2 separate regions of the Homo sapiens genome follow, and region 2 is linked to region 1. The links are contacts of gene promoters, found by promoter capture Hi-C in blood cells and fetal thymus (Javierre and others, 2016). All regions are on one chromosome and are shown on one strand. The core of a region is centred on a gene start or on the middle of the fragment in contact, and the rest is flanking DNA. Distances in the headings are between cores, read along the strand shown. Region 1 holds the start of EPHB6 (EPH receptor B6). Region 2 overlaps ZYX (zyxin).

Region 1 (7,618 bases), core at 1,633-4,132:
AAGAGATAGGGGACTCAGAAGACTCCTTTATGGCTTTTTACTAGAATTCTTATCAGTGAAATTATTTGTAAAGCTCTTTGTTTATGACAACATCAGCTTACATTAGCTGTTCTAAGGGGAAATAAGGAAGAAGAAAATTGCACATCCTAGGGGAGTGAGCAAAGCCCAAGAAGGAGGCAAAAACTCAGAAAAAATGAGGCAGAACCAATCTAGGAGCCTTCCTATCTCACCTGGAGTTTTCTACTCAGCAGTTCCTTTTGGTTCCAAATTTACATAATAGATTGTTGTGTGCCAGAAATGATTAATTCTGTGAGCCATAAACTTTATTAGGTCCTGCCCATTAGCAATACTCCAGGGTTTTTTTTTTGAACAAGTCAAAAAAAAAAAATATATATATATACACACATATATATATAGAAAGAAACAGGGTCTCACTCTGTCGCCCAGGCTGGAGTGCAGTAGGACAATCTTGGCTCACTGCAACCTCCGCCTCCCGGGTTCAAGCGATTCTCCCACCTTGGCCTCCTGAGTGTCTGGGACTATAGGCATGCATCACCATGCCTGGCTAATTTTTGTATTGTTTGGTAGAGATGAGGTTTCACCATGTTGGCCAGGCTGATCTCAAACTCCTGACCTCAAGTGATCCTCTCACCTCAGCCTCCCAAAGTGCTGGGATTACAGGCATAAGCCACTGTGCCCATCCACATAGAAAAAGTTTAAATATTATTTTTTATTGATTCATTCTATAACACTTCTAAGCACCTGGAGTGTCCCAGGCACCAAACAAATTATAGCAAAAAATTTACATTAAACTTTAAAAAGGAATTCATTACTTTGCTTTTTAATAGCTGCAGGTTGCAGCATACTTTAACAATGCATTCTATGCTCTCCACCTACCATTAAAACTTGGTTTGATAAGACATAGGCAATTAGGATGCAAAGCCGACTAATCACAAATTTAAACCTCTTTGCATCCTGAGTATGACACTTCCTTTGAAAACTAGATGCCTCTCAAATTTTATTAACAAGACAAATATAACTAATTACACAAGCCTTGAGCAGCAAAAACTTCATTTCATATTATAGTCACCTAATATGAGGTATATCATGAAATAGAAAAGAAGGCAGATATTTTTACTGTTATGTCAATACAGGATACGTTGCAAATTACTACAGGAATTTCTGGGTTTTATAAAGTAACAACTACGGTTTGGTTTTGTCCATATTTTTATTTTAACATAATCTAGTTATGTGTCTTTTTTTTAAGTTTTCAATATAACCATAGATGTCTAGCAATCAGGCATGTTAATGTATGAGTTACGTAATTCCACACACAATGCAAATTCTGTTTCTTTGCAGAAGTCTTTGAAAGCCTTGGAGATAACCAGAAAATGAAGGAAGCCCTCCACCACTGAGTTTCAGGGCAAAGGGAAGAAACAAGATAAAGTAGAACCGTCAGTACAAGTGGAATTATTAATGACGTCCAAATGCAGTCATTAAATACTATCAGACTTATTTATTGACTCCTGATATTAAGAGTGAACAAACCCCTGGCCAAGTGGGAACTTGCTCGGTAGCCTTTATCTTTCTATCACTCATTCAGTCAATTCATTAAAGCCTGTTTGTCTCTCCCAGGTGACTCTTACTGAGTTTCATTGTTTTGTTTATTGTGTTTGTTGGCTCATAGATCTCTTTCACAATTTTCTTCGGCTTCTGAATGCTCTTTAAGTACCAGTTTTGATCAGCCCATTTGCTTTAATAAACAGGAGAGCAAGATGGGACAGGGCGATACAGGGAGAAAAGGGGGCAAAGGGAATCGCACCGGGTGCTTGTGCTCCCTAGAAAAACCAGCAGGTGGTAGCAACACTTCGTGGCAAGGCCCCAGCCCAGCTCTGTAGGACCCAAACAATAGACCCCAAATCCCCGTCCTCGGCTAGAGAAGGGGTTAGAGGTGGGCGGAAACACTTTTCCTCGCGGCGCCCCCTCGGTTCCTCAACCCTGCCTCCAGGCGCCAGCTGAGAGCACCTTGCACCGCCCCTCCTCACTGCAGGGAGGTTCTCTCCGGAGCGCGGGCGAGGGAGGAGGCACCCAGAGGTGCAGCGACTTGCCCAAGCCATGTCAGAGCCAGGCGTACAGCAGCGCTTCCCCTTTTCAACCCGACTGCCCTGCCCCTTGGGGAGGGTAGATGGAGGGAGGTTCGACTCAGAAGCCCCAACGTTGACCAAGATCCAGACACGAAAAGAGAAAAGAGTTCCCGGCTAGCACGGCGACGCTTTCATACCGAGACGCCCCCCTCTCCCGCTGCCTCGGCTCCCCCTACCACCGCCCGTACTCTCCCAGATTTCTCAGTTTGTCTTTCCCTCCACCCCCTGCTTTTCCTTCCTTCTCTCTTGCTCAGCTCACGCCCACCTTAGTTCCAAGCTGAGTAGGAGCCCCACTGTTTTAGTTCCTAGAGTTAAAGCCGAAGAGGAGGGAGGCGCGAGGGGGTGTGTGCAGGGCTCTGCCCTGCCCTGAACTGCCACGGTCCGCCAGTTGCGCTTCGCTCCGCGGGTGTCCGACCCAAGCCGAGCCCGAGCCCGAGCCCAGGCAGGGGCTTTACAGACAGCCTCTTCCCTTCCCACTTCCTGCAGGCGCCCCACGCGTGCGATCCTCCCGGCCAAGACCCGCGGGAGGAGGCCGCCCCCTTCCCGGCGCACAGGCGGGGCCCCGGGCGCGCCCCGCGTCTCCCCCGCGCGCCGGGGCGGAGGAGCGGGCGCCGCGCACTCACCGCCTAGGCCGGGAGGGCGGGCTCGGCTCCCCGGAAGAAGGGAGTGGGAAGGCGGCCAAAGGGGCTGAAGGGGCGGGCCGGGCCGGCTTGGGAGGGGACGCGGAGGGGGCGGGCCGGGCTGCGTTCGCTCCAGCCGCGGCTCTACAGCAGCGGGCGGCGGGACCCGGGACCCAGCTTGGCGACGGCGATCTCGACGCGGGCCCCCAGGATCTCCCGGCGCCCCACCTCTGGAGCAGCCCCTGCCGCCAGCGTCAGGTCCACCCCGGAATCCCAGGGACTCTCGGCGCCGAACGGACCCGGGCCGGGTGCAACGGGGTCCCCGGACTGGAGAAGACGCGGGTGGCACCGTGCGAGCTCCAGGAGCCCCGGGTCCACTGCGAGGCCTCGGGGGGCGCAGACCTGCAGAGACTGCGGCCAACGGGAAGGTGAGCCCGCGGGGTTAGCAGGCGGCGTTGTGGGGGTCGGGGACAGTATGCTTGGGGACAGAGGAATTAAGGTTTGCAAGAGTAGTGGGGCTCCTCAGCCCCTAGGTGGCTTCCTGAGGGAGTACTGAGGATCCTTCCTCAAGGCCAGAGTGGGGTTCATGAAGGGTGAGGAAACGGTCAACCTGGCTACTCCCCTCTCACTCCACTCTGACCTGGCATCATTGACACCGCATTACCCTTGCTGTTAGGATCCCCCAGTTGCGTTCCCAGACATTCTCCTCTGGCTCTGGCTTGGGAGTCCTAATCTGGGAGGGTCCTCGCAGAGACGGAGCTCCACGCTTGGAACAGGATTGCCACCCCTCTGACTCCAGTGGCATCACTCCAATCCCCTTGGAGCTGGGAGGAGTCAGGAGGCTGACCACACACCTGTCCCCTGCTCCCCACAAGGCACTGTCCCCCCCAGCTCCATGACCACAGTTAAGCCTTGGAGGTGGAAGGAACGCTTGGTTCCTGCTGCCCAGCCATCACCCCCAACGTGCAACCAAATTCTATTGCGTGCTCCTGCCCCAGCTCCACCCTCGCTCTGCTCCCTCCATCTGGGTGCTTGGCCCTGCTTGCCCCACACCCCCACCCACCGATCTTGGCCGTCTGGCACCCTCTCTCCTCCCATCCCTGGGGGAGCTGGCATGGACCCAGCATAGCAATGTTGTAATGTCCCTGGCAGCGCCCATGGAGCGGAGCTGCTGGGTCTGTTCCCAGTTAACCCAGGCCCTCCGCCCGCCAGGGGAACTTGACTGAGGCTCTAGGAGGGGAGATGCTGGTCCTGAGCTGAGAGACCAGTGGGAGGGAGCTGTGTGGGGCTGTTAGTAGACCACAGAAGCTGCCCAAGTAAGGGGCATTGGAGCATTGAGGCTTCTGAGTGCTGCTCAGTGGGGCCACTTGGCTTTTCAGAGCAGTGGGCCTTTTTTCTCAAAGGAAGATTAGCGTGGGGGTGTCTATGTACTTACCTGGTGGCCTCAGAAGGAGGACTTGTTTGGAGTCTATTACTCCATTCAGGGTGCAAAAAGATGGTTGGCAATGACACTGAGTTACCAGAATGCTGGGGAGCAACAGGCTGGGGTGGGCTGAGCATGGGAAAGGCAGGATCCTCCTTCTGGGACGGCTGTTCTGCTATCACTCTGTCCTGAGCCTGGGCCCTAGACCCTGAGTTCCCACTCTAGGTAGAAGGAGGATGGCAGGTTCTGGAGGGTTTGGGAAGCCTCAGGTTTCCCTTTCTTTACCCACTCCTCCCCGCCCCCCACTTGGCTCCCTCTCCCAGCCCAGGTGTTTCTGCAGAAGTACCTCCTGGGGCCAAGAGCAACTCACAGCCAGACTGGGGGTAGAGCAGGGGCCGAAGGTGAGGAAGAAGGGCCCATGGAACCACTCCGGAACCAGCACTGATGTGCATCTTCTGCCACAGGAAAGCAACAGCCCCCATCTACACAGACAGCATCTGCTCCCGCCCACCTCATCTCATACACATTCCCTTACACACTCCACCAGGTAGACACACATCCTCAGGCACTGCTGACGCAGGTGCTACTCCTGGCACTCAGGGGCTTTCTTCCACAACCTTCCACTTACTCATCTCTCAGGCACATTTGCCTCCTGCCTTAACACCCTCCCTTATGCTCTTTTCCAGAGCCACGCATGTCCCCGGTCAGTGCACAGAGTGGCTCATTCTAAGTGGCTGTCTGGCTAGACCTAGACACTGCCTGCATCTTAAAAGCCTCCCCCAGCTCCACAGCCTGGGAGTGGGAGGCACATTTGTCTGAGTCACAGTGCTCTGGGGGACATTCTCAGGGGCTGGAGGCCTCCAGGGACACAGGACTGTCCTCTGCTAGGTAATCTACAAATTGGCTTCTCCAGCCAAGGAAGCAGGGACTAGAAGAGCCGGAGGACAGCCACCTCCTCACTGTCTGTCCTGGATGCCTCCATGAAGCCTGATGATGGGATCCTTCTCAAGGCAGGAGGCCAGAGCACGAAGAGATCTCCAAGGTGGAGATTAAAGGATAGAGGCTTTGGCATTAAACTGAGCAAGGATTATACTGGAATTTCCTGGGCGTTTAACAGCTGTGGAACAGGATAGGGGACAGGGCCTGTGGTACTGACCCCTCCCACACTGACCTGTGTGGCTCACAGGTGTAAGGACCAGCCCAGCAACCACACCAGACATAAAACCTCGAACCGCTTTGCCCTTGGGACTGTTCTGTCCCTGCTGGACTCTGCAGCCTGCTTTGTCTCACTAAATTGTTCCTGTCTGGGCTCGGTTTGGGGCCATGCCCTTTACTATGTGTTCCCAGTGGACAGTCCCCTGGGTTCCCCTCTGTCCCTTCATAGCCTCATCCCTTTGCTTGACATCGTCGAAGAGAAGCATGCATGATGTCAGCAGCGGGACAGTTGGAACTTCTTGGGAGACAAGCTTAAAGACTAGCCAGAGATAACAATTATTTTGGTTTTCTTGTTGGCATTACTTCACTCATTCATTCTCAGCTCCTACTGTATTTCCACCTCTACCTTCTTCTTATAGATGAACATTTCTTGATATTTTGAAACATAGAAGGAAAATGGCATGGGGAGTGAATAAAATGTAAACGTATGCTTATTTGTCTAGGTTTTACAAATATTTTTCTTTTTTGTTTAGATTTTAATTATGAGATTTTACGTTAATTATAAAAATAAGGTATGCTTACTGTAACAAGAAAAATAATTGAATTATGTGTAAGACAAAATTAATGCCCCCACCTACAATCCTTCATTTCTACCTCCCACAGTAACCCATTTTAATGGCCTAATATGTCTTCTGCCTACCTTCCTCCAAGCTTATTTGGCTTACATTATTTAATCTTTAAAAATTCACTTTGTGGATTGAGGTGCATAAACTATATTAAGTAAGCTTGATTTGCTCATGAAAATATCATATTTAGCATTTAATTGGAGCACGATTAATTTTTTAAATTCTTACCAATTTACCAATTTAATTTACTTTTAAGTCATTCTTTTTTTTTTTTTTTTTTTTTTTTTTTTTTGAGACAGCATCTTGCTCTGTCGCCGAGGCTGGAGTGCAGTGGCACGATCTCGGCTCACTGCAAGCTCTGCCTCCCGGGTTCACGCCATTCTCCTGCCTCAGCCTCCCCAGCAGCTGGGACTACAGGCACACGCCACCACGCCCAGCTAATTTTTTTTTTTTTTTTTGTATTTTTAGTAGAAACGGGGTTTCACCGTGTTAGCCAGGACGGTCTCGATCTCCTGATCTTGTGATCCGCCCACCTTGGCCTCCCAAAGTGAAATATTTCATTTTTATAGCAACATAACTCGTAAGCTATGCTTTGTAACCTATGATTCTACAAATCTTTACTTTTTGCCAGTTTCTGAAAACAAAACACAACCTTGATACCTAAGAAACAGTCTTATTTTTGTAAACCAAAGAGATGTAGCAGGCTTGTGGATCTATTGTCTCTACTGTATCAAAAAGATATTAAGTGATATATCTATAAAAGAAGCTGAGAACATATTATAAAGTCATAGACTGCAATTTTTGTTACCTAAAACTTTGTCTAATCCGTCTCGTTTTCTCCACCATTGTTTTATGTTCACATTTCTGCTGCTTCTGGTTTTATATTTTTAAAACCTTATACACATCTGAAATGTGAATATTTTTCTAAAGGAGATAAGTTCTTTTGCACATTCTTGTGTTAGAGAATTTCTAAATACTGACCAGTTCCTTTTGTAAGTCAGAGGAGAGAGGACTCTCAAGCAGGCTGTGAGAGAGGAGCAAGGGGCCTGGCTTTGCAGAGGCTGCTTCCCATCTCTGTGGCAGGAGAAATGTACTGGCCTGTCCCTGGGATGCTCTCCTGGACCAAATGCAGAAGATGCTCCATGCCCACAACCATTGAAGACACCTTTGAAAAATCAAGTTCTGAGTCCTGCTTACTTAGCATTCCAGGCATGTGGAGCAGCCGTGTTCTTGTCACTTATGTTTCTGCCTTTGAAATTGGCTTCAAAAGAATCTGCAGTGGTATGAATTTGCTGACAGCAATTTATTCCATATCTTAATAAAGCTTCCTTTTTCTTTATTTGGATTCCTGCAACAGGGGTACACCCATATTCTTTTTATATATTAAAATTAAAAGTCTTGAATTTATCTGGTTTGTTTGATAAGTAAGAACTCACCTAACTTCCTAGTCTGACTCAGCAACAATTTTTTTTTTCTGAAAAAATGTATTTATAACCTTCAGTCATCTGGATCTGAATCTAAAAGAGGTCCTCATCAAACATTAGAAGTATCCTTCTGGGTACTTTAAGATCCTCAACCATTTCTTTTTAATGAATATCTTTGTTCTTAGTAAAATTTCAAAAAATTGCTGAAGTGGTCATCCACAGGCAG
Region 2 (2,750 bases), core at 1-2,500, 530 kb after region 1:
TGCGGGAAGAAGAGTCAGGAGGAGAGTCAGGGTGCACTTGGAGAAGAGAGCTGAGCTCCTCAGTGGGGTATTTGAGGGAGTGAGGACTCAAGGCTAGAGATTAGACTGTTGGGAAATCATCAGCGGTCTTGGGATGGCCTGTTTGTGCCCTGTGGTGGGAACACAATGTGAGGAGTTGAGGAGAGAGTGGGTGGTGAGAAGTGGGGCTGCTGGTGTAGCCTGGTCTTAAAGGACTAAGGGAAGGACTGTGTGTCAGTGGTGTGTGTGTGTGTATATATACACATATGTGAATATATGAGTGGCGTGTGTGTGTGTGTTAGTGTGTGGGTGTGGGTATGGTGTATGTGAGTGTATGTGCATGTGTGAGCATGAATGTATGAGTGGCGTGTGATGTGTGTAGTGTGATTGTGTGAAAGTATGTGTATATGAGTACATGTGTGCATGTGTGAGTGAAGGTGTGTGCATGTGTGAGTGTGGCTGTGATGTGTATGGTGTGTGATTGCACAAGTGAAGGTGCACATACATACTTTCTTACAAATACACACAAGTGGCGTATGTGTATATATGTGAGTGGTGTGTGTGAGCGTGTGGTGTGGTATATCTTTTTTTTTTTTTTTTTTTTTTTTTTGGAGACGGAGTGCAGGCTGTCGCCCATGCTTACTACAACCTCCGCCCCCCTGGCTCAAACGATTCTCCTGTCTCAGCCTCCCAAGTAGCTGGGATTACAGGCACGTTCCACCACACCTGGCTAATTTTTGTATTTTTTAGTAGAGATGGGGTTTCACCATGTTGGCTAGGCTGGTCTCGAACTCCTGACCTCAAGTGATCTGCCTGCCTCAGCCTCCCAAAGTGTTGGGATTACAGGTGTGAGCCACCGCGCCTGGCCTGGTGTGGTATTATCTGAATGTGAGTGGTGTGTGTGTGTGTGGTATGGTATATGTGTGAGTGTGTGTGTGTGGTGTGGTATATGTGTGAGTGTATGTGAGTGGTGTATGTGTGTGGTCTGGTATGTGTGTGTGCATGTGAGTGGTATGTGGGTATGTGTGAGGGTGTGTGTGTTTGAGTCTGTGGTGTAGCATATGTGGTTTTTGCAAGTTAGGGGAGAAGGGCTCAGGTACGTGTGTAACCCGGGGAAGCAGGTGATGGAGGGTGAGTGTTGTGGGAGAGCAGGGGCAGGCTGCTTCGGTCCCTGGAGGAGATCTTGGTGATGTCTCCTCCCCCAGAGGCATACCAGACAGCAAGGACAGAGTGGTTGCAGCGTGGATAGGAAGGACGATGAGGGAGCTTAAGCTGGCTGGCTTCCATGTCCTCAACCATGTGGGAGGTGAGGTCACGGTGCGAGCAAAGGGACGAAGCAGGTGGGGGCTCAGGAGATGGAGAGGTCTGGAACGGCTGCTGTGGGGAAGGCTGGGCTGGAGGTCGCGCGGGTGCTGCAGTGTTGTGAGCTCACGCTGCAGTGTTCAGTGATCTCTCCACTGCTTTCTGCAGCTTGGAAGCAGAAACAGGAAGAGGGTGGTGGTGTGACTTGGGGTTGGAGACTGGGCCGGATAGCTGCGGGTGGCTGCAGGTGCCCGGAGGGACAGTGAACCCTGTAGGAGTTAGATGGTCATGGGACCAGGCTGGGGCATGGTGGACAAAGTCCAGGGGTGGGTTGCGGGTGGGGGCAACTAAGGCTTTTCTGGGTTCATGTAGTAGGTGTGGATGGGGAAGAGGAGAGGCAGATAATGGCTGGCAAGAGACTTGGAGGTAAATCTGAGGTCAAGGATGTCCCATGATGGATGATGACTGAGATGGACGGAAGTTTGGTTTGAAGCGGTGGCATTGGTGCAGGCTGGCAGAGGGGGCAGTTCTGGATAGAGTGTCCTGATGAATGGGGATACCCATGGGAGGTGATGCAGATGAGGATTCTGTGCTTCTGAAGGAGGAGCCAGGCATTTAGAATGGCACTGGAGAGCAAGGACTGACTGAGCCCCTTCACTGTGTCCCCAAGAGGCCAGGAAGGGAAGATTGGAGGAGACAAAGTTGAAGTGAGTGTTCCAGGGAACGAGTCAGTTAAGAGATGGTAGGATCTTAAGGGAAGATGGCTAAGATCTTAAGGGAAAATGGCTAAGATCTGGAGAGTTGGACTTATATGGACGCATGCTTCACTGGGCAGAAAGGACGCAACTCTGGGTACAGATGGGGGTCGGGGTGAGGGGCAGTGAAGCCAGGGCTGAGGGGAGAGGGGCTATGGGAGGAGGTAGCAGGGGGGCTTTGGAGGTTCCAGGTGTTATGGGAATGAAGGCATCTGCAGGTAGCACACTCAGTGATGGGGCCACAGTCCTGGGTAGGCTTTTCCAGACATAGAAAAGACCCACCCAGTGCACTTGCTCCTGTGGGCGTGTCTCCCGGCAGTGCTGATGCAGGTCAGACAGCCCTTCCCGGAGTTCTCAGGGTTACCTCTCAGGGTTACTGGCAGCGCTGTCCTTAACATCCACCCCCCACTCCAGTCCCCGGGATCCCCTAAATGGGAAGGTTGGGCTGGCCTAGGGGGTGGCCTTTGGACCTTCTCTGAGGCTGCTGGGGAGGGACCTGAGTGAGGTAGTTCAGAGGCCCCTCACTCGAGGGACAGGGTCTCTGTGTGGGGGTGGGGCTGGGTTCTTGCAGACAGCTCAGTGGGTTTAACCTGCAATTCCTGCCTGTGTTGTATCCTCACGCTGACAGGGGCTGCTCAGCAGCAGGCAGGCCGGGTAGGTGTGTGTGCGCGTGTG

Evidence for each region. Contacts are between HindIII fragments. The CHiCAGO score rates a contact against its expected background, and 5 or more counts as called.
Region 2: a contact is called between a fragment that was not itself captured here and the fragment with the promoter of EPHB6 in region 1, in 1 of 17 cell types (naive B cells). The highest score is 5.9, in naive B cells.

The regions. Positions count from the first base shown.
Region 1 is chr7:142,852,194-142,859,811 of GRCh38, forward strand. EPHB6 (EPH receptor B6) reads left to right here and starts at 2,883. Exons shown (of 20, transcript NM_004445.6): 1 at 2,883-3,192. The HindIII fragment of the contact is 5,828 bases long and covers 1-5,651 here.
Region 2 is chr7:143,385,059-143,387,808 of GRCh38, forward strand. All of the region lies in intron 5 of ZYX (zyxin), which reads left to right. Among named protein-coding and RNA genes, the nearest start is that of MIR6892, 3.7 kb to the left of the region's middle. The HindIII fragment of the contact is 3,543 bases long and covers 1-2,750 here.